Linked DNA regions of Homo sapiens: all the other regions are linked to region 3. Evidence: promoter capture Hi-C in human tissues and cell types (Jung and others, 2019). All regions are on one chromosome and are shown on one strand. Each heading gives the region's core, a stretch centred on a gene start or on the middle of the fragment in contact. The rest is flanking DNA. Distances are from core to core; before and after follow the strand shown. Region 1 has its middle 13 kb from the start of ASIP. Region 2 has its middle 37 kb from the start of ASIP. Region 3 holds the start of TP53INP2 (tumor protein p53 inducible nuclear protein 2). Region 4 overlaps TRPC4AP (transient receptor potential cation channel subfamily C member 4 associated protein). Region 5 overlaps ASIP (agouti signaling protein). Region 6 has its middle 19 kb from the start of AHCY. Region 7 overlaps MMP24-AS1-EDEM2 (MMP24-AS1-EDEM2 readthrough).

Region 1 (3,234 bases), core at 101-2,600, 480 kb after region 3:
GCCAGCCGCCCCGTCTGGGAGGTGAGGGGCACCTCTGCCCGGCCGCCCCTACTGGGAAGTGAGGAGCCCCTCTGCCCGGCCAGCCGCCCCGTCCGGGAGGGAGGTTGGGGGGTCAGCCCCCCGCCCGGCCAGCCGCCCTGTCCGGGAGGGAGGTGGGGGGGTCAGCCCTCCGCCCGGCCAGCCGCCCCGTCTGGGAGGTGAGGGGCGCCTCTGCCCGGCCGCCCCTACTGGGAAGTGAGGAGCCCCTCTGCCCGGCCAGCCGCCCCGTCCGGGAGGGAGGTGTGGGGGTCAGCCCCCCGCCCGGCCAGCCGCCCCGTCCGGGAGGGAGGTGGGGGTGTCGGCCCCCCGCCCGGCCAGCCGCCCCGTCCGGGAGGGAGGTGGGGGTGTCGGCCCCCCGCCCGGCCAGCCGCCCCGTCCGGGAGGTGAGGGGCGCCTCTGCCCGGCCGCCCCTACTGGGAAGTGAGGAGCCCCTCTGCCCAGCCACCACCCCGTCTGGGAGGTGTGCCCAACAGCTCATTGAGAACGGGCCAGGATGACAATGGCGGCTTTGTGGAATAGAAAGGCGGGAAAGGTGGGGAAAAGATTGAGAAATCGGATGGTTGCCGTGTCTGTGTAGAAAGAAGTAGACATGGGAGACTTTTCATTTTGTTCTGCACTAAGAAAAATTCCTCTGCCTTGGGATCCTGTTGATCTGTGACCTTACCCCCAACCCTGTGCTCTCTGAAACATGTGCTGTGTCCACTCAGGGTTAAATGGATTAAGGGCGGTGCAAGATGTGCTTTGTTAAACAGATGCTTGAAGGCAGCATGCTCGTTAAGAGTCATCACCACTCCCTAATCTCAAGTAATCAGGGACACAAACACTGCGGAAGGCCGCAGGGTCCTCTGCCTAGGAAAACCAGAGACCTTTGTTCACTTGTTTATCTGCTGACCTTCCCTCCACTATTGTCCCATGACCCTGCCAAATCCCCCTCTGTGAGAAACACCCAAGAATTATCAATAAAAAAATAAATTTAAAAATAAAAAATAAAAAAAAAATAAAAGGCAGATTTTACTGAATGTAAATTACATATTAATAAGCAACTGCCACAAAACCAACAAAACCCAGTTGCTTTGGTGTCGTAGCATGTGCAGCTCCATGACCCTTGAGGAGGCTCAGCACGCTTTTCAAAACATCCACGTGTGATTCCGACATTCTAGCATTTGTATTTAGAAAGGAAGTGAAGACTTTTCTGCATGTTGTTTTGTTAAAATGTTGAACTGAGGTTTGAGTATGTAAATATTATTTTTTCCTGTGTAAACACATCAGCCAAAAATATATTGACAAATACATATGTTCAAAAAAAAAATAAATAAAAAATAAAGTAGTTTCCAAAGGAAAAAATAAAAAAAATAAATAAAAATTAATCAGGAAAAAAAAAAAAAAAAAAAAAAAAAAAAAAAAAAAAAAAAAAAAAAAAAAAAAAAAAAAAGAAAGTTCTATAGTGTTAGATTTTACATTTATGTCTACAGTCCATTTTGAATTAATTTTTATATGGTGTGAAGTTATGAATTGAAGTTCATTTTATTGCATATGGCTAACTGTTCCAGTACCATTTGCTGAAAAGATTATATTTTGTACCTTGTGGGAAATCACTTGACCATACATGTGTGAGTCTATTCCTAGACTCTCTATTCTGAACTACTGACTTGTCTATCTTTATAGCAATACTACACTGTTTTGATTATTCTCCAAGTCTGGAAGTCAGGGAGAGTGAAGTCTTCAAACTGTTCTTTTTTGAAGTTGTGATTACTCTAAGTCCTTTGTATTTCCACATGAATTTTAGAATAAACTTGTCAACTTCTACTAAAACCTACTGGGAGTTTGATTGGAGTTGTGTTGAATCTATTGATAAACCTGGGGAGAACTGACATCAGAACAATATTGAGTCCTCTGATCCACGAATATGGTATATCTCTTTTTTTTTTTTTTTTTGAGATGGAGCCTCACTCTGTCACCAGGCTGGAGTGCAGTGGCACAATCTCGGCTCACTGCAACCTCCACCTCCTGGGTTCAAGTGATTCTCCTGCCTTAGCCTCCCGAGTAGCTGGGACTGCAGGTGTGCACCATCATGCCCAGCTAATTTTTGTATTTTTAGTAGAGATGGGGTTTCACCATGTTGGCCAGGATGGTCTCGATCTCTTGACCTCGTGATCCGCCTGCCTCGGCCTCCCTAAGTACTAGGATTACAGGTGTGAGCCACTGTGCCCAGCCTGGTATATCTCTTTACTTATTTAAGTATTAATTTCTCTCATTAATGTCTTATGGTTTCAGTATATGAGTCTTGCACAGATTTATCATTAAAAATTTAATATTTTTGGTACCATTATAAATGGCATTTTTTAACACGTCAATTTGTATTGTCTTTGCTACAATATAGAAATAAACTAGTTTCTGTATATTAATCTTGTATGCTTCAAACTTGCTAAACTCATTTATTAGTTCTAGCAGACTTTTTAAGGACTTCATTGGATTTTTTACATAAACAATCATGTCTTTTGCAAATAAATAGTTTTACTGTTTCATTTCCAAGCTTATTGTTTTTTATTCCTTGTTCTTGCCTTACTGAATTAACTGGAATGTCCAGTAGAGAGTTCAATAGAAGATGTGAGAGCAGACATCCTTGCCTTGTTCCTTATTGTAGAAGAAAACATTTGGTCTTTAATCAAGTATGGGGCCAGGTGTGGTGGCTCACACCTGCAATCCAAGCATTTTGGGGAGGCCAAGATGGGAGGATCACTTGAGGCCAGGAGTTCAAGACCAGCCTGGTCAACATAGCAAGACCCCATCTCTATAAAACATAAAAAAAAATTAAGTATGTAAGTTAGCTGTAGATTTTTTGTAGATGAGCTTTATCAGACTGAGGAAGTTCCTTTCTATTATTAGTTTGTTAAGACTTTTTAAAAAATCAGGCTGAGTGCAGTGGCTCATTCCTATAATCCTAGCACTTTAGGAGGCTGAGGCGGGTGGATCACTTGAGGTCAGGAGTTTGAGACCAGTCTGGCCAACATGGCAAAACCCTGTCTCTACTAAAAAATATAAAAATTAGCCGGGCCTTGTGGTGTGCACCTGTAGTCCCAGCTACCTGGGAGGCTGAGGCAGGAGAATCGCTTGAACCCAGGAGGCAGAAGTTGCAGTGAGCCAAAGTCGTGCCACTGCACTCCAGCCTGGGTGACACAGCGAGACTCCATCTCA
Region 2 (3,134 bases), core at 86-2,585, 500 kb after region 3:
AGCACCAATCAGCACTCTGTAAAACGGCAAAATCAGCGCTCTGTAAAATGGAGAAATCAGCGCTCTGTAAAATAGACCAAGCGACAGGATGTGGGTGGGGCCAAATAAGGGAATAAAAGCAGGCAACCAGAGCCAGTAGCAGCAACCCGTTTGGGTCCCCTTCCACGCTGTGGAAGCTTTGTTCTTTCGCTCTTCGCAATAAATCTTGCTGCTGCTCACCCTTTGGGTCTGCACTACCTTTATAAGCTGTAACACTCACCGAGAAGGTCTGCAGCTTCACTCCTGAAGCCAGCGAGACCACGAGCCCAGCGGGAGGAATGAACAACTCCGGATGCGCCGCCTCTATGAGCTGTAACACTCACCACGAAGGTCTGCAGCTTCACTCCTGAAGCCAGTGAGACCACAAACCCATTGGGAGGAATGAACAGCTCTGGACGTGATGCCTTTAAGAGCTGTAACACTCACTGTGAAGGTCTGCAGCTTCACTCCTGAAGTCGGCAAGACCACGAACCCACCAGAAGGAAGAAACTCCGGACACATCTGAACAACTGAAGGAACAAACTCCGGACACACCATCTTTAAGAACTGTAACACTCACCGTGAGGGTCCATGGCTTCATTCTTGAAGTCAGCGAGACCAAGAACCCACCAATTCCAGGCACACTTGTACTTGGTAGCACAATAGGGTGAGTATAATTAAGTATAATTTATTGTACCTTTCAAAATAACTAGAAGAGTAGATTTGGAATGTTCCCAACACAAATAAATGATAAATGCTTGAGGTGATGGATATTCCATTATCCTGATTTGATCATTACACATTATATGCTTGTATCAAAGTATCACATGTACCACATAAATTGTACAACTATTACCTATCCATAAAAATAGAAAATAAATAAAATGAATAAAGTGTAAAAATCACAGGCTCATTTTAACTGATGAGAAAAATACATTTCATAAAATTCACCATCTGTTAATGTTTAAAAATTATATCAAACTAGAATTAGAAGAAAAATTCCTCAATCTGATAAAGAGTAACTACAAAAAGTAAACTCCAGCAACCATCATATTTAACTGAAATTATTGAGTGCTTTCTTTCTATCAGAACTAAGATAAGGATGCCTGCTATTTTCACTTTTATTCATCATTGTTCTTAAGGTTTTACCCAGTCCAATAATTCAAGAAAAAGAAGTTAAAAAACGGGCCAGGAGCAGTGGCTCACACCTGTAATCCCAGCACTTTGGGAGGCCAAAGTGGGTAGATCACCTGAGGTCAGGAGTTCAAGATCAGCCTAACCAACATGGAGAAACCCCATTTTTACTAAAAATACAAAATTAGCCAGCATGGTGGCGTGTGCCTATAATCCCAGCTACTCGGAAGGCTGAGGCAGGAGAATCGCTTTAACCCACGAGGCGGAGGTTGCGGCGAGCCAAGATTGCACCATTGCACTCCAGCCTGGACAACAAGTGCAAAACTCCGTCTCAAAAAAAAAAAAAAATTAAAAAAATAACTATCTGAAAGAAATCACTACACACACTACACATACTACATGATTGTGAATCTATAAATAAACTATAAGAATTATTAAGTTAATTAAGCAGGGTTGCTGTATGCAAGTATAAATACAAAATTTTAATTATTATGTCAATATGCCAGCATCAAACAACTAAAAATGAACATTAAAATATGCCATTTATGGCCGGGCGTGGTGGCTCACGCCTGTAATCCCAGAACTTTGAGGCCAAGGCAGGTGGATCACCTGAGGTCAGGAGTTCGAGACCAGCCTGGCCAACATGGTGAAACAACCCCATCTCTACTAAAAATACAAAATTAGCCGGGTATGGTGGCGTGTGCCTGTAATCCCAGCTACTTGGGAGGCTAAGGCAGGAAAATTGCTTGAACCTAGGAGGCAGAGGTTGCAGTGAGGCAGGATCGTGCCATTGCACTCCAGCCTGGGCAAAAAAGAGCGAAACTCCATCTCAAAAAATAAATAAATAAATAAAATTAAAATACGCCACTTATAAGGCTGGGTGCATTGGCTCATGCCTGTAATCTCAGCACTTTGGGAGGCCGAGGTGGGAGGATCACTTGAAGTTAGGCGTTCGAGACCAGCCAGGCCAACGTGGCGAAACCCTGTCTCTACAATAATGCAAAGATTAGCCACGTGTGGTGGCAGGTGCCTGTAATCCCAGCTCCTTGGGAGGCTGAGGCATGAGAATCACTTGAACCCAGGAGGCAGAGGTTGCAGTGTGCCAAAATCATGCCACTGCACTCCAGCTTGAGTGACAGAGTGAAACCGTGTCTCAAAAAATATATATATAATATACATATATATATGCCACTTATAAAATAAATAGAAAATAATTGGGAATAAATCCAATGAATAATATACCAGGTTTCTACATAGAAAACTATAAAACATCAAAAAATTTTAATAAGACTTCAACTAGTGAAGGGATATACCATATTCATGGATAAAAAAATTTAATATTGTAAAGACTTTCATATTAATTGATGGACAGATTTAATGTAATCCCAATAAAAATTCCAGCAGGGTTTTTTTTGGTAGAATTTATAAAGTTATCCTAAAGTTTATGTGGAAATATAGAAGTTCAAGAATAGCCAAGGCTCACGCCTGTAATCCCAGCACTTTGGGAGGCCGAGGCAGGCAGATCATGAGGTCAGGAGATTGACACCATCCTGGCTAACGCGGTGAAACCCCGTCGCTACTAAAAATACAAAAAATTAGCCGGGCGTAGTGGCGGGCGCCTGTGGTCCCAGCTACTCGGGAGGCTGAGGCAGGAGAATGGCGTGAACCTGGGAGGCGGAGCTTGCAGTGAGCCGAGATCATGCCGCTGCACTCCAGCCTGGGCAACAGAGCAAGACTCCATCTCGAAAAAAAAAAAAAAAAAAAAAAAAGAATAGCCAAGGCAATCTTGGGGAAGATGAGAGGCATGAAGGACTTATTCTACCAAATATCAAAACTTATTGCAAAGTTACAGGAAATGGAAACAGGGTGCAAGTGGCAGAAAGACAGACTAATGGACAAATGGAAAAGAATGGAGATTCCAGAACAACACACACATATTAGATAGACAATGGATTAATAATAAAAGTGGGAAATTAATAGTG
Region 3 (3,142 bases), core at 116-2,615:
CACTTGTTAAGTCAGAAACTCTCCTTATCCTATCCCTTCTCCTATACTCTCTGTGGGCAGAGGTGACGAGGGAGCAGCAAAACACCTGCAATTGTCTGCACTAGGCCAGGTCAGGCCCTTCCTAGCTGACGACCTAGGAAGTTGGGAAGGTAAAGGGCCAATAGAGGGAACCCTCACCCCACCCTCCACCCCAACATCAGCCCTGGAGACACCCCGAGGCAGCCAATGACTCACCTCTCTGTGATCCAAACAGCTGGGAGGCAGCGATTTTATTGGACTCTAGGACTTCAAGGTACAGTGAGGACAGAAGGGGTCAGGACCACAAAAGGTGAACCAATCTCCAGAGATTCCCTGGAAAAGGGTCCAGGAGTAAGGACACCTAGGAGCCTATCAAACCGTGATAAGGCTGAGCCCAAGATCGGGTCCCCAGTGGAAGGAGGATGTGTATCTTACCACTTGTACTGAGCCCCTATTATGTCTTTGCCCCTGGCTAATAATCCATCTGTCACTCAGTGAGCATGACTCTAATTGGTTATGTGACCTCGAGAGAGCTAATCCTCCTCTCTGGGCCTGTTGCCCCTTCCATGCACTGGGGTCTAAGACCCTTCATTTTGGGTCTAGGAGTGACATCAGCTAAGGCGCTGCACACAAATCAGGGATTAGGAGGATGTTATTCTGTTAGTCCCTGGGGGCGGAGTCTGGAGCCGGAGGGAGGGGATCCCACCACCATCTGGTGCTGTCCCAACCACCTGGAGTCCCATGCAGCCCTGAACTCCTGACGACCCCCTCAACCTAGGCCCAGCAGCGCCGTCTGACTCCTTCTCAGGTTGCAAAGAGAAAGTAGGGGATCAGAGGCCTGACCCCAGCCCCTGGATAAGCCTAGGAAATCGCCGATCCCCCTGCAGCCCCCTTTGGATTGCAGCGTCTCACCCAGGGCCCAGCCCCGACACAGCGGCTACCGGGTCACGGGAGGACAAGCGACCCGAGCCTGTGGGGGCGGTACCGGCCTTGGTGACGTCTCAATGTCATATGCAAATAGAACGACGTCATGGTCTACCGGGCGTGCGGCAACCAATCGGGAGCCGGGAACGCGGCCCCGGCGGCCGCCGGCGGAGACAGACAAAGGCCCGGGCGCGGGGGGCGCAGGGCGTGTCCGTGGCAGGGGAGCCCCCAGGCCCACCCGGGTCGGGACTCACCTGGGGGCGGGAGGGGGGCGGCACGGCGTTGAGGTAGTTGTGCGGCGGGGCGTCCCAGGGTCGCCGGCCGCTCACAGGCCGGGCCGCATCGCCGGGACTCGCGGGGGAGGCGGCGGGGCCGCGGTCGCTCCGGGCTGCTGAGCTCGCCCGCGGGGCTTTGAGTCTGTGCGGCCGCTGCGGCGGGGCTCACGGCACAAATTGGAACGTTCAAACAGCTGATTGTGACGTCACAAAGGGGCCCGCCCGCCTCGCGTCACCGGCTGGCGGGGCGGCGGCCAATCCCGGGCTGCGGATCCCCCCCTGCCCCTCCCCTCCCCTCCCCTCCCGGTTTGCGGGCCGGGCGCTCGGGCCGGGAAACGTTCTCGGAACCGGGAGGGTGAGTGTTCGGGGAGGCAGCTGCGGGGAGCTGGGAGCCCTGCGCCGCGGCGAGCTCTCCGCGAGGAGGATCTCCACTCCCTCCTACCGGCTCCTTATTTTCCTGATTCTTCCCGGATCGCAGCGCCCTCACCTCTCCCACTGCTCCCCAAATCCTTTCACTGCATCCTATATCCAAGTCCCCCGATGCGGACCCTGTTCTCGACCCACACCACGTCCGTGCACCTGCATTCTCCCCACTGCCCTTATTCCTGCTCTCCCTCCCCCCTCTGGCTCACCTCCTCAGCCTTACACACTCTGCTTTCCCACCCCGTTTTTCCTCAGCTCGGCGGGCTTGAGAAAAGAGGGACATCCCCAACCCCCGGTTCCCGGGGAGCATCTGGGAATGTAGAGAAGTTAGTGAAGCTGACGTGAAATTTCGCAGAGTAGGACTTGGAGAGGAATTGCCCTGGGCTGAGTAAACATTGACCTGAGACGGCTCCGCGCTTGAACGTTTACATACCTTATTTAATCTATGTTGCTACCGGGGCTGTAAAGAAGTGGCAGGACAGGGACTGATTATGAGTCCTGATTTACACGTGGGAAAGCTGAGTCTCACAATCTCACTGTTAGCGTGTGAACTCATGTTCAACAATGCATTCAACATTTATTAGGCACCTACTATTGCACCACCATACCACTAGCTGACATGTATTGGCACACTTACTGTGTGCCACGACCTGTGCTATGGGTGTGTTTTTTTATCTTCACAACAACCCAAAAGGTAGATATTGTCCCGTTTAACAGTTGAGGAAACAGACTCAGAGAGCTCAAGTGACTTTCTTAGGTCACAAAAGTACAGTCAATGGCAGAGCCAGGATTTGAACCCATAGCTCCCAGCCCTGACCCTCTCCATTCTCTACATGAACCAGATGGTCTAAACCTCAGGGCGCTTTAGCCTCCCCAGAGTCCTGGCTTTCAGTCCTGACTGTGCCCTAGACTTGCTGTGTGACCTCAAGTCATGTTACCTCTCTGGGTCTCAGTTTGTCAAACAAACATATCCAGGCTTCCCTCTAGAGCTGCCATTGTAAGATTCTTCCACACTCTCTGCCCTCAGGATTCCACCCACCCCACGCTCTAGGCCCCAGCTCTCCCAGTGGCCTGGGAGATGCCCGAGAAGAGACCACAAATACACATATCAGAATCTCCAGGGCCAGAGGTTCTAGGTCAGCAGAGCAGGGCTGGTGGGGGAGGGTCCGAGAACTGCCCACCTAGCCCAAAAGGAGGCCGGAGGTGACCTAGGCCAGAGGTTAATGATCTAGTGATAAAACTTTTTTTTTTTTTTTGAGACGGAGTCTCGCTCTTGTTGCCCAGGCTGCAGTGCAGTGGCACGATCTCGGCTCACTGCAAGCTCCGCCTTCCGGGTTCACGCCATTCTCCTGCCTCAGCCTCCCGAGTAGCTGGGACTACAGGCGCCCGCTACCACGCCCGGCTAATTTTTTGTATTTTTTGTATTTTTGTATGTTTAGTGTTAGCCAGGATGGTCTCGGTCTCCTGACCTTGTGATCTGCCTGCCTCGGCCTCCCAAAGTG
Region 4 (3,324 bases), core at 390-2,889, 350 kb before region 3:
TTTAAGCTGATGGCTATCCCAAGTACATTGATTTGATTTTTATAAATTATACGAATGTATTAAATTATATGCTCCCTGAAATTATGTACCTTTATTATATATCAACTAAAAGTATTTTTAAATAAAATTTTTTAAAAAATTTGAGGAACATAGGGCGATATGGTTCAATTATGTGCTATCTGGCTGAATTCCATGTTAATGTAGAGAACCTGGGGCTCTCAGGGTTGCAAACACCAATGCCTCCAGGGATCAGGCAGAAAACAGGAAATGTTTGGAATTGCTGGTGTTGGAGTGGGGACTTGTGTAAACTGTGACTAAACTGGAGCAAGTATGTCCTGTCTAAAGATGTTTGAATTCAAAAGTTTAAAAAGTACTGTTGGCCGGGCACGGTGGCTATCACCTGTAATCCCAGCAATTTGGGAGGCTGAGGCGGGTGGATCACTTGAGGTCAGGAGTTCCAGACCAGCCTGGCCAACATGGTGAAACCCCGTCTGTACTAAAAACACAAAAATTAGCCAGGTGTGGTGGTACATGCCTATAGTCCCAGCTACTCAGGAGAGGCAAGAGAATCACTTGAACCCAGCAGGCAGAGGTTGCAGTGAGCTGAGATTGCACCACTGCACTCCAGCGTGGGTGACAGAGTGAGGGTCTCTCAAAAAATAAAAGATAAAAAAATAAACAGTACTGCTCACCAGAAAAAGCTTGGCCTACTGGATGCTAGTTTGTAGCTCCTCATTTAGATACTTGACAGATACTAGGTCAAGAGCTTATGATTAGGCTGGGCGCAGTGGCTCACACCTATAATCTCAACACTTTGATAGGCCGAGGCAGGAGAATTGTGTGTGTCCAGGAGTTCAAGACCAGCCTGGGCAACATAGAACCTGTCTCTACAAAAAATAAAAAACTGGCTGGACGTGGTGTTATATACCATAGTCCCAGCTCCTCAGGAGGCTGAGGTGGGAGGATTGCTTGAGCCTGAGAGGTTAAGGCTGCGGTGAGCCATGATTGTGCCAGTGTACTCACTCAGCCTGGGCTATAGAGTGAGACCCTGTCTCCAAAAAAAAAAAAAAACCAAAAAAAAACCTATGATGAATGTTACATGGAAAAAACTCTCCCCCGAAAAATGTAGTTGCATACAACCTTTTATATATTGTTTTAGTGCTTTTTGGCCTCAGTTAAGAACTTGTGATATAGAGGAAAGGAAGGATTGTGATGGCCTTTTGGGTGGCCACTGTTGACTTGGGAAGGTTTTCCAAGAGGAGTCATTTTAGTCAGTCTGTAAAAGGAGTAGCACTTTGATAAATTGAAGAGAGGAGAAAGGTGGGTAGTCAAGGGTAGCTAGTTAGAGCAGCAGGGTTGTGTATTTGACAGCCTGGAGATAGATTTTTAAGCTTTGAGAAAGTGTAAATTTAGTTCTCTTTTTGTTCTGTTTCTTTGGATCTTCCAGAACTTTTGCTTGTCAGTAAAACTAGAGTCAGTCCTGTTTCACATATCATAGCCAGTGTAGGTACTGTATGTAGTTCGGGAATAACAACCTTTTTTTTTTTTTTTTTTAATGTGTCAGTGCTACGACTGAAGAACCGAAATGTATTAATACAGATGGAGATTGCTTTCTTTAGTGTCCTATTTAATGTGATCGTCAAAGATTTATATACGTGGCACATCTTTATTGATGCCTTCACTTTGAAAATTAAATTTGCCAGGTGCGGTGGTGCACGCCTGTAGTCCCAGTGATTCAGGAGGCTGAGGTGGGGGGATCGCTTGAGCCCAGGTGATTGAGGCTGTAGTGAGCTATATTCGTACTTGTGAATAGTCATGGCCTCAGCCTGGGCAACAGAGTGAGACCCTGTCTCTAAAATTAAAAGAAAGAAAATTAAATTTGTTGCAACATATCTCATTTCACTGATTCTGAAATGCCTCCTAGCTTGGGGTTCCCATTTACCAAACTGTGTGTGTCTGCACTCTTGATTATACTTTTTAAGGAGAAGTCAAGTTTATCGCAGTAAACCTTGGAATTTTTTCAGCTTAGAGGCTAAAAAAAAGAAATATTAAAGTCACTAAGCTCTAGTTGCCTTAAGGCAGTAGGGGTGGGATATATATGTGTGTGTGTGTGTGTGTGTGTGTGTGTGTGTGTGTAAGCTATAGCAGTACTGCAGTTTCTTTCTTTTTAGAGATAGGGTTTCACTCTGTCCCCATGCTGGAATGCAGTGGTGAGACAGATTGTAGCTCACTGCGGCCTCACACTCCTGGCCTCAAGCGGTCCTCTCACCTCAGCCTCCGGGGTAGCTGGGATTACAGGTGTGAGCCACTGCACTTGACAATACTGCAGTTTTAAATCCAAACTCTTGAACCTAAGTTTTAAGGTCTTTTACCAGCTAGTTTCCTTAACTTCCTTCATACCCCTTGGGGGTTTTGTTTTTTTGTTGTTGTTGGTTTTTTTGTTTTGTTTTTTTTTTTGAGTTAGGGTCTCCCTCTGTTGCCAAGGCTAGAGTGCATTTGCACAGTCTAGGCTCACTGCAGCCTCCACCTTCTGGGCTCAAATGATCCTTTTACCTCAGCCTCCTGAGTAGCTAGGACTACAGGCATGCACCACCACACCCAGCTAATATTTATATTTTCAGTAGACAGGGTTTTGGCACGTTGGCCAGGCTGGTCTCGAACTCCTGGCCTCAAGTGATCTGCCCACCTTGGCCTCCCAAAGTGCTGGGGTTACAGGTGTGAGCCACCACGCCTGGCCTCAAAGACTTTTAAGATGATCATTTTACTGATGAAAAAAATGGAGTTCCAAAGGTGAGAAGTGATTTGCTCAGGATCACACAGCTGGAATTAGAACTTAGGTCTGACTCTTAAGTCCATGCTTCGGCACTGTTTGATTTCAGATTTAAGAATGGCCTTCAGAACTCTGAGATAAGTTATTTTAGGAAATACCATCTCATTGTGTTATGTTCTCACAAGTGAGTTCCCACTTGTGTAGCCTGCACGTCAGGAGACTTTTTTCTTCCATAGCTGGGGAGTTAACGAGCGTTTCCCACAGTTAAGCCATGCCATTCCTGTTTTGTTGACTCATGCCAGTTTTCAGAGGTGAAACTGCTTTTCAGTGTCTGTAAAGGATGCCTTGTACTTTCATAATTTATTTTGTACTTACAACCTATTCTGCCTTTTCTTCTTGTGACAGACAGAGGGAGTTACAAAGCGTTTGGCAGAAAAGAATGACTTTGTGATCTTCCTGTTTACATTGATGACAAGTAAGAAGACATTCTTACAAACAGCAACCCTCATTGAAGATATTTTGGGTGTTAAAAAGGTGAGCTGTGTCCTCTAGCT
Region 5 (3,185 bases), core at 233-2,732, 450 kb after region 3:
CATCAAAGCCCAAATGAGTGACTACAGTACTTATTTGCCCTTCTCACATTTCATATGGCATTTATCCAGTCTGGAGATAAGAATGGTTTTTACATTTTTAAATGATTCTATTAAAAAAAAAAAAAGAATATCCAACGGAGACCCTATGTGTTCCACAAAGCATAAAATATTTATTATCTGGCCTTTTACAGAAAAAGTTTGCCAACTCCGTCTAGATTGTAAGAATCATGATGGATTGGAATAAGAACATCATGTTTGCTCCATCAATATCTACTAACCGATGGAGCACTTAACTATTTCTTTTCTTTCTTTCTCTCTTTTTTTTTTTAAGATGGAATCTCACTCTGTTGCCCAGGATGGAGTGCAGTGGTGCGATCTTGGCTTACTGCAACCTCTGCCTCCCGGATTCAAGCAATTCTCCTGCCTCAGCCTCCTGAGTAGCTGGGACTACAGGTGCTTGCCACCACGCCCAGCTAATTTTTGTATTTTTTGTAGAGACAAGGTTTCACCATGTTGGCCAAGCTGATCTCAAACTCCTGACCTCAAGTGATCTGCCTGCCTTGGCTTCCCAAAGTGCTGGGGTTACAGGTGTGAGCCACCGCACCCAGCCCAACTATTTCTTCAGGAAAAGATATTGATGACCTTTATTAAAAGGCTAATGTGCCAATAATATTTCTCATTAATTTATCAGACTTCAGATTTGTTTTAGTACAGGACTGGGTCCTAATGAGACAAGAGCTAGGACTGGTAAACTTGGATTGTGGAGGCAGAGGAAAAATTACATCATGAATAGTTATCATAATGTTTTGAAACTTATTATTATATCATGCTGTCTAGAATTCATAAAGATTCAATACAGTAACATTTGGAATAGAAATATGAAATATTTGTAAACTAGATAATATTTTAGTTACATAAAATTAAATATATATTTAAAATTTTTATTCTGTATCATTGATCTCTTCCAAAAGCAATATTGTTTTTAATTTTTAGCTTCTGATTGTTGCTAAAAAGACCATTTTTCAAATAACAGCATCTAGCTTTAATGGGTATTAATTAGGAAGGCAAATTAGAAATAAATTCAACCCGGCTGGGCTGGTGGCTCACGCCTATAATCCCAGCACTTTGGGAGGCTGAAGCGAATGGATCACTTGGGGTCAGGAGTTCGACCTGGCCAACATGGTGAAACCCCGTTTCTACTAAAAATACAAAAATTAACCAGGTGGTGGCCTCCTGAGTAGATGCCTATAAATCCACCTACTCAGGAGGCTGAGGCAGGAGAATCGCCTGAACCCAGGGGGAGGAAGTTGCAGTGAGCTGAGATCGTACCACTTCACTCCAGCCTGGGTGAAAGAGGGAAACTGTCTCAAAAAACAAAAAACAAAAAACAAAAAAAAAAAAGAGAAAGAAAGAGAGAGAGAAAGAAAGAAAAAGAAAGAAAGAAATTCAACTTTAAAAAACAAGGAAAGTAAAGGATGGAGATGTGGTGGAATGTGGTGGGAAGCTCTGATTAACAAAAGGCTCTTAGCAGGGAGTGGCGGCACAAGACTGTGTTCCCAGCTACTCGGGTGGCTGAGGTGGGAGAATCACCTGACCCCAGGAAGTTGAGGCTACAGTGAGCTGTGATTGTACCACTGCACTGTTACCCAGCCTGGGCAACACAGTGAGACTCTATCTCAAAAACAAAAACAAATGAGCTCGATTAAGGCAAGTTACAAGAGGCATGTTATAAATTAGGAGGCGGTACGTGTAGTTATTTTGTGTCTTTGGGTTTTCCTTACCATAAATAATATACTCATGGGCCAAAAACTGTAATGGGAATTTCTACAAAGAAGTGAGAGTGGCCGGAAAATCTGAGCTAGAAAAAGAGGCCAGGCATGGTGGCTCACGCCTATAATCCCAGCACTGGAGGAAGCCACAGGAGGAGGATTCCTTGATCTTAGGAATTTGAGACCAGCCTGGCAACATAGAGAGACCTCATCTCTACAAAAAATTTTTAAAAAATTAGCCGGGTGTTATCGGGTCCAGCCCTACTGGGTCTGTGGGTTTTTTCTCCTCATGTGTGGAGACGAGAGATCGTAGAAATAAAGACACAAGACAAAGAGACAGAATAAAATACAGCTGGGTCCGGGGGACCACTACCACCAAGGCACAGAGACCAGTAATGGCCCCGAATGCCTGGCTGTGCTGTTATTTATTGGATACAAGACAAGGGGGCAGGGTAAGGAGTGTGAGCCATCTCCAGTGATAGATAAGGTTACACAAGTCACGTGTCCACCAGACAGGAGGCCCTTCCCTGTTTGGCAGCCGAGGCGGAGAGAGAGGACAGTTTATGCCATTATTTCTTCTATGCATTTCAAAGACTTTAGTACTTTTACTAATTCTGCTACCACTCTCTAGAAGGCGGAGCCAGGTGTACGGGGTGGAACATGAAAGCGGACCAGGAGCGTGACCGCTGAAGCACAGCATCACAGGGAGATGGTCAGGCCTCTGGAGGCTGCGGGTGGGCCTGACTGATGTCAGGCCTTCCACAAGAGGTGGTGGAGCAGAGTCTTCTCTAACTCCCCCGGGGAAAGGGAGACTCCCTTTCTCGGTCTGCTAAGTAACCGGTGCCTTCCCGAGCACTGATGCTACCACTAGACCAAGGTCCACTAGGTAATGGGTGCCTTCCCAGGTGCTGGCATTACTGCTAGACCAGGAAGCCCTCTAGTGGCCCTGTCCGGGCGTAACAGAGGGCTCACACTCTTGTCTTCTGGTCACTTGCTCACCGTGTCCCTTCAGCTCCTATCTCTGTATGGCCTGGTTTTTCCTAGGTTATAATTGTAGAACAAAGATTATTATAATATTGGAATAAAGAGTAATGCTACAAACTAATGATTAATGATATTCATATATAATCACATCTATAATCTATTTCTAGTATAACTATTCTTATTCTATATATTTTCTTTATTATACTGGAGCAGCTTGTGCCCTCGGTCTCTTGCCTTGGCACCTGCGTGGCTTGCCACCCACAGGTGTGATAGTACACACCTGTGGTCCCAGCCTCTTGGGAGGGTGAGGTGGGAGGGAGGATTGCTTGAACCTGGGAGGTTGAGGCTCCAGTGAGCTGTGATCATACCAAAAAAGAAAAGAAAGGAAGAAAGAAAAAGGTGGCAGGAGTTTGGGGAAGATTAAGTTAGACC
Region 6 (3,064 bases), core at 403-2,902, 380 kb after region 3:
CTCAAGCGATCCTCCCACCTTGGCCTCCCAAAGTGCTGGGATTACAGGCATGAGCCACTGAGTTCCACCATATTTGTGTATATCTATACACAAATATCTTTATGTGTGTGTAGATAGATATGTTTTTATATATATTATATATGTAATATACATTTATATATGTAATGTTTATACATGTGCAGTATAACTATGTAATGTTTATATATGTGTAGAATAACTGTGTAATGTTTATATATATATATATCCCCCCTCTAGGACATTAGCTCCTCAAGGACAGGGCTTCGCTCACTGCTGTAGCACAGTTCCTGGCCCTTAGTAGTGTTAAAAGAAAAACTAGCTGAATTAAACGTAAAAGAGTTTAATTGAGCAAAGAATGGGCAGCCTCCCAAGCCAGTGTAGGCTCAGAGACTCCCACGCAGCTGTCACTGGAAAGGGGTCCTAATCTAGCTAGACTCCAAGAGACGGTTCTTGGACCTCACGCAACAAAGAATTCAGGGCAAGTCCACAAAGTGAAAAGTTTATTAAGAAAGTAAAGGAATAGGGCCGGGTGCGGTGGCTCACGCCTGTAATCCCAGCACTTTGGGAGGCTGAGGCAGGCGGATCAAGAGGTCAGGAGATTAAGACCATCCTGGCTAACACAGCGAAAGCCCGTCTCCACTAAAAATACAAAAAATTATCCAGCCGTGGTGGCATGCACCTGTAATCACAGCTACTCAGGAGGCTGAGGCAGGAGAATTGCTTGAACCTGTGGGGCAGAGGTTGCAGTGAGCCGAGATCGCGCCACTGCACTCCCGCCTGAGCGACAGAGTAAGACTTGTCTCAGAAAAAAAAAAAAGAAAGTAAAGGAATAAAAGAGTGGCTACTCCATAGGCAGAGCAGCAGCATGGGCTGCTCAACTGATTATACTTATCATTATTTCTTGACCATATGCTAAACAAAGGGTGGATTATTCATGAGTTTCCTGGGAAAGGGTTGTGCAATTCCTGGAAGTGAAGTTTCCTTCCCTTATAGAGTAACTTCCAGCTGTTGCCATGCATCTGTAAACTGTCGTGGCACTGGCGAGACTGTTTCTTAGCATGCTAATGCATTATAATTAGCGTATAATGAACAGTGAGGACGACCAGAGGGCACTTTCATGTCATCTTGGTTTTTGGTGGGTTTTGGCTGGCTTCTTTACTGTATCCTGTTTTATCAGCAAGGTCTTTGTAACCTGTATCTTATGCTGACCTATCTCATCCTGTGACTTAGAATGCCTAACTTCCTGGAATGCAGCTCAGCAGGGTCTCAGCCTTATTTTACCCAGCCCCTATTCAAGATGGTGTTGCTCTGGTTCGACCTATGAGTATAGCCTATGACACAGCCACGTGGTGGAAGAAGATTTATGAACAGAAAAAGGAAAATGTTGTTTCTGTAGAAACAACCAGATTGGTTATAGCATGGCGTTTTTGTCTTATTTGAACACGGTTTGAATAGCTGGCCACACCTGATTGGCAAAACTCGGTGACTGGCACAAGAGTAGGCTGCAGTCTGTTTACAATTCCATTTAGGTTATAGTTCACAATGTACAGAGAAACCTTTAGGCTGAACTTCAAAATATGTGAGGAGTCAGGTTTAGGCTAAACTTCACTTAAAAGTCAGTACTGAGTAAATGTTTGTTGTATGAATGAACGAATTAACCACTAATTATGATGGGGATGAGGAGGAAGAAGGCCCAGATGTGCAGCTGTCATCTAAACTAAGAAGGCAACTGTGCGTGGGAAGCACTTGACCCTAATAGGGTCCCTGGCTCCTTGCCTGAGTGAGATTAGGAACTTCAGAAAAGCTTTTCTCCACACCCCTCCACCTGGCTCGCCTCATCTTCCCAGCTGGTCACAGTACCCAGAGGTTCATTTGCTTTGAACATCTCTGTAAAGCTCTGAAAGTGTTCTTTGTTTCGACATTTTCTCATTTTTTGCAAGTATCAGGCATGGACAAGCACCTTCTGGAAAACACATAACACTCATACACACATACACACTCAATCTAACACACATGCTTGGCCATATCTCATATTCTTATAACCCTCACCAGCTAACTTACCCACACACAGTCCTAATTATGCACAGTTGTAGACACACATGCTTACACTTGACCTCAAGGTCTCACTCCTCTGTCCCACACACTCACAGACATCCATAGTGTTACAGGAAAGGGGTCCCGATCCAGACCCCAAAGAGGGTTCTTTGATCTCACGCAAGAAAAAATTCAGGGCAAGCCCATAAAGTGAAAACAAGTTTATTAGGAAAGTAAAAGAATAAAAGAATGACTACTCCATAGGCAGAGCAGCCCCAATGGCCGCTGGTTGCCCATTTTTATGGTTATTTCTTGATTATATGCTAAACAAGGGGTGGATGATTCATCCCTCCCCTTTTAGACCTTATAGGATAACCTCCTAACATTGCAAAGGCATTTGTAAACTGTCATGGCTGCAGTGGGAATGTAGCAGTGAGGACGACCAGAGGTTACTCTCGTGGCCATCTTGGCTTTGGTGGGTTTTGGTGGCTTCTTTACTGCAACCTGTTTTATTAGCAAGGTATTTATGACCTGCATTTTGTGCAGATCTCCTATGTTATTCTGTGACTTAGAATGCTTTAAACCTGCCAATCACGGTGGCTCACACCTGTAATCCCAGCACTTTGTGAGGCCAAAGCAGGCAGATCACCTGAGGTCAGGAGTTCGAGACCAGGCTGGCCAACATGGTGAGACCCCCAGTCTGTACTAAAAGTACAAAAAATTAGCCAAGCGTGGTGGTGCACACCTGTAATCCCAGTTACTTGGGAGGCTGAGGCAGGAGAATCGCTTGAACCTGGGAGGTGGAGTTGTAGTGAGCCGAGATCACGCCATTGCACTCCAGCCTGGGTGACAAAAGAGAAACTCCACCTCAAAAAAAAAAAAAAAAAAAAAAAAGAATGCCTTAAACCATCTGGGAATGCAGCCCAGCAGGTCTCAGCCTCTCATTTTACCCATTTCCTCTTTAAGATGGAGTCCCTCTGGTTCACACGTCTCTGACAATAGCACTGCATGT
Region 7 (2,937 bases), core at 404-2,903, 420 kb before region 3:
CCTGTTAGAAACCAGGCCACACAGCAGGAGGTGAGCTGCGTGTGAGCAAGCAAAGCTTCATCTATATTTATAGCTGCTCCTCATCGCTCACATTGCTGCCTGAGCTCCGCCTCTTGTCTTATCCGTGGTGGCATTAGACGTTCATAGGAGCACAAACCCTATTGTGAACTGCATATGTGAGGGATCTAGGTTGTGTGCTCCTTAGGAGAAGCTGATGCCTGATGATCTGTCACTGTCATCCATCAACCCCAGATAGGGCTGTCTAGTTGCAGGAAAACAAACTCAGGGCTCCCACTGACTCTACATTATGGTGGATTGTATAATTATTTCATTATATATTACAATGTAATAATAATATAAATAAAGTGCACAATAAATGTAATGCACATGAATTATCCCAAAACCATCTCCTACAAGCCCAGTTCATGGAAAAATTGTCTTCCATGAAACTGGTCCCTGGTGCCAAAACGGTTGGGGACCACTGCTCGACAGAGTTGGTCAGATGCACAGGAAAGTAAAGCAATAACTAACATGCTTAGGAGGCCCACATGTGAGGAGAGAAGCGTGATGGCTGGTCATGAGGGCACTGGCCCACCAGCTGCTAGAAGCAGAAGAGGGCTGGGTGTGGTGGCTCACGCCTGTAATCCCAGCACTTTGGGAGGCCAAGGCGGTGGATCAACTGAGGTCAGGAGTTCGAGACCAGCCTGACCAATATGGCGAAACCCTGTCTCTACTAAAAATACAAAAATTAGCCGGGCACGGTGGCATGTGCCTGTAGTCCCAGCTACTCAGGAGGCTGAGACAGGAGAATTGCTTGAACCTGGGAGGCAGAGGTTGCAGTGAGCCAAGATCATGCCATTGCACTCTAGCCTGGGTAACACAGCAAAACTCCCTCTCAAAAAAAAAAAAAAAAAAAAAAGAAGAAGCCGAAAAAAGAAGCAGAAGAGGAGGCCTCCCATGAGGGCACTGTCTTTTCTGCCTTTGAACACACAGAATGTGTTCATCTAGTAATGAATGTACCCTAGTCTGTGCCTTAGAATATGAGCAATTAGATTAGCAATTGTCTAGAGGCCTGTGAGGAGAGGGGAGGAGGAAGTAAGAGAGAACTGGGGAGATAGGCAGAGACCTTTTCTCTAAAATAAGAACTAGAGGCTGGGTGCAGTGACTCACGCCTGTTATCTCAACACTTCAGGAAGCCAAGACTGGCGGATGACTTGAGGTCAGGAGTTTGAGACCAGCCTGGCCAACATGGCGAAACCCTGTCTCCACTAAAAATACAAAAATTAGTCAGGGCTGGTGGCGCATGCCTGTAATTCCAGCTACTTGGGAGGTTGAGGCATGAGAATCCCTTGAACCCAGGAGGCAGAGTTGCAGTGAGCGGAGATCGCACCATGGCACTCCAGCCTGGGTGACAGAGTGAGACTCTGTCACAAAAAAGTAATTAACGGAATAAAATAAGAACCAGAGTTTGCAGCAATAAGCCAAAAGGGACAGAAGCACTGATCAAGCCCAGGAGGAAACAGGACAGGAGAAGGTCAGGGGGAGATGATGGTATAGAAAGGAGACAGGGGTTCTTCTGTCTCTTAGAAAAGATGGATGAAGTAGAAAAACATACTGAGCTGAGGCCACCCTTGAAGTCAACTCTACAACAGTTCTTCAGGTATTTGAAAGCAATAAACACATTTTTTTTGGATTTCCTTATCTCTAGAATAAATATTCTCATCTGGACCCACTCCTGTTGGCTAATATTCATCTTAAGGTAGAGCTCATGTCTTAACATCAAGTTCCAGTTGTGGCATAGAATTGGGCAAGACAAAACATCACTTTTTCTGGCCACAGTGAACTGATGACTACGTCTTTGTTAGATTGACGGTTTGGTGGTTTATTTTATTTTATTTTTTTAATTTTTATTTTTTGAGATAAGGTCTCACTCTTGTCATCCAGGCTGGAGTGCCGCAGTGGCTTAATCATGGCTCACTGCAGCCTCAAACTCCTGGGCTCAAGTGATCCTCCTACCTCAGCCTCCTGAGTAGCTAGGACTACAGGTGCATGCCACACCCAGCTAATCATTTTTAATTTTTGTAGAGACAAGATCTCGCCATGTTGCCCAGGCTGGTCTCAAACTCCTGGGTTCAAACGATCCTCTCACCTTGGCCTCCCAAAGTGCTGGGATTACAGGCATGAGCCACCCACCATGCCTGGCCTGCTCTTGGATATCTCAGCCTTTTCTTTTGGTCCATCCTATCTTAGAACGAGCCTTATGATGCCAAGCTCTTACTCTTCTTTTGAGTTTTAGAATTAGGTTAGACTCTGAGTGACAGGAAAAAAAATAGTAGCTTAATTAGGATAGAAATGTATTTCTCTCTCATGTTCTGGGCTTATATGGCTCGCCATGGTGTCCTTAATCCCACCTAGCTGTTAGAATAGTTAGTGTTGGCAGCCAGGCAGCCTGTGCTTAGCTAAAGTTAGGAATCCTGCTACTAAGGAGGAAGCGGGGAACAGATATTGGGAATTAGGCAACAACCTCCGCCACCTTCTCTATGCCAGAACCTGGCCACCTTTCTCTCCCTTGTGGTGGAAGTCACTGGTCAGCCTTAATGCTGGTCTCCACTGAGCTTCAAGCTTTGGGTATACTGGCTCTGAAACTCAGCACTGGGTGAGGTATCCTGTGTTCCTGCTAGTTGGGGCCTTATGGACAAGATATGGAGGGGAGTAGTCCCTCACGGCCCTAAGAGGCCCCAGGCCATCTCTGTGCAGCCACTGAGTGAGGAGGGTCTGCTTTGGACTTTGCAGAACTTATTGAAAGCGCAATGTACCTCTACCGTGCCACGGGGGATCCCACCCTCCTAGAACTCGGAAGAGATGCTGTGGAATCCATTGAAAAAATCAGCAAGGTGGAGTGCGGATTTGCAACAGTAAGTGTTTGCATGGCCCCAA

Evidence for each region. The method cuts DNA at HindIII sites, captures the fragments that hold promoters and counts their contacts. A contact is called where the count stands out against the background at its distance.
Region 1: a contact is called between a fragment that was not itself captured here and the fragment with the promoter of TP53INP2 in region 3, in 2 of the 25 tissues and cell types used here (IMR-90 fibroblasts and lymphoblastoid cells).
Region 2: a fragment that was not itself captured here is called in contact with the fragment with the promoter of TP53INP2 in region 3 in 4 of the 25 tissues and cell types used here (IMR-90 fibroblasts, lymphoblastoid cells, mesenchymal stem cells and 1 more).
Region 4: a fragment that was not itself captured here is called in contact with the fragment with the promoter of TP53INP2 in region 3 in 2 of the 25 tissues and cell types used here (aorta and dorsolateral prefrontal cortex).
Region 5: a contact is called between a fragment that was not itself captured here and the fragment with the promoter of TP53INP2 in region 3, in 1 of the 25 tissues and cell types used here (lymphoblastoid cells).
Region 6: a contact is called between a fragment that was not itself captured here and the fragment with the promoter of TP53INP2 in region 3, in 6 of the 25 tissues and cell types used here (IMR-90 fibroblasts, bladder, hippocampus and 3 more).
Region 7: a fragment that was not itself captured here is called in contact with the fragment with the promoter of TP53INP2 in region 3 in 1 of the 25 tissues and cell types used here (spleen).

What each region holds. Positions count from the first base shown.
Region 1 is chr20:34,226,370-34,229,603 of GRCh38, reverse strand. It overlaps a transcript of ASIP not described here. Among named protein-coding and RNA genes, the nearest start is that of ASIP, 13 kb to the left of the region's middle. The HindIII fragment of the contact is 4,655 bases long and covers 1-3,234 here.
Region 2 is chr20:34,202,589-34,205,722 of GRCh38, reverse strand. It overlaps a transcript of ASIP not described here. Among named protein-coding and RNA genes, the nearest start is that of ASIP, 37 kb to the left of the region's middle. The HindIII fragment of the contact is 6,854 bases long and covers 1-3,134 here.
Region 3 is chr20:34,702,567-34,705,708 of GRCh38, reverse strand. TP53INP2 (tumor protein p53 inducible nuclear protein 2) reads right to left here and starts at 1,365. Exons shown (of 5, transcript NM_021202.3): 1 at 1,197-1,365; 2 at 235-351. LOC105372599 (a long non-coding RNA gene) reads left to right here and starts at 1,527. Exons shown (of 2, transcript XR_936690.3): 1 at 1,527-1,572; 2 at 1,896-2,050. RefSeq lists a silencer at 1,090-1,569. The HindIII fragment of the contact is 10,895 bases long and covers 1-3,142 here.
Region 4 is chr20:35,049,846-35,053,169 of GRCh38, reverse strand. TRPC4AP (transient receptor potential cation channel subfamily C member 4 associated protein) reads left to right here. Exons shown (of 19, transcript NM_015638.3): 6 at 3,176-3,304. Among named protein-coding and RNA genes, the nearest start is that of TRPC4AP, 41 kb to the left of the region's middle. The HindIII fragment of the contact is 3,382 bases long and covers 1-3,324 here.
Region 5 is chr20:34,255,287-34,258,471 of GRCh38, reverse strand. All of the region lies in intron 1 of ASIP (agouti signaling protein), which reads right to left. It also overlaps a transcript of AHCY not described here. Among named protein-coding and RNA genes, the nearest start is that of ASIP, 15 kb to the right of the region's middle. RefSeq lists an enhancer at 2,404-2,583. The HindIII fragment of the contact is 9,204 bases long and covers 1-3,185 here.
Region 6 is chr20:34,321,188-34,324,251 of GRCh38, reverse strand. No RefSeq gene overlaps it. Among named protein-coding and RNA genes, the nearest start is that of AHCY, 19 kb to the right of the region's middle. The HindIII fragment of the contact is 4,210 bases long and covers 1-3,064 here.
Region 7 is chr20:35,118,576-35,121,512 of GRCh38, reverse strand. MMP24-AS1-EDEM2 (MMP24-AS1-EDEM2 readthrough) reads left to right here. Exons shown (of 15, transcript NM_001355008.2): 14 at 2,794-2,915. It overlaps EDEM2 (ER degradation enhancing alpha-mannosidase like protein 2), which reads left to right. Exons shown (of 11, transcript NM_018217.3): 10 at 2,794-2,915. Among named protein-coding and RNA genes, the nearest start is that of TRPC4AP, 27 kb to the right of the region's middle. The HindIII fragment of the contact is 4,711 bases long and covers 1-2,937 here.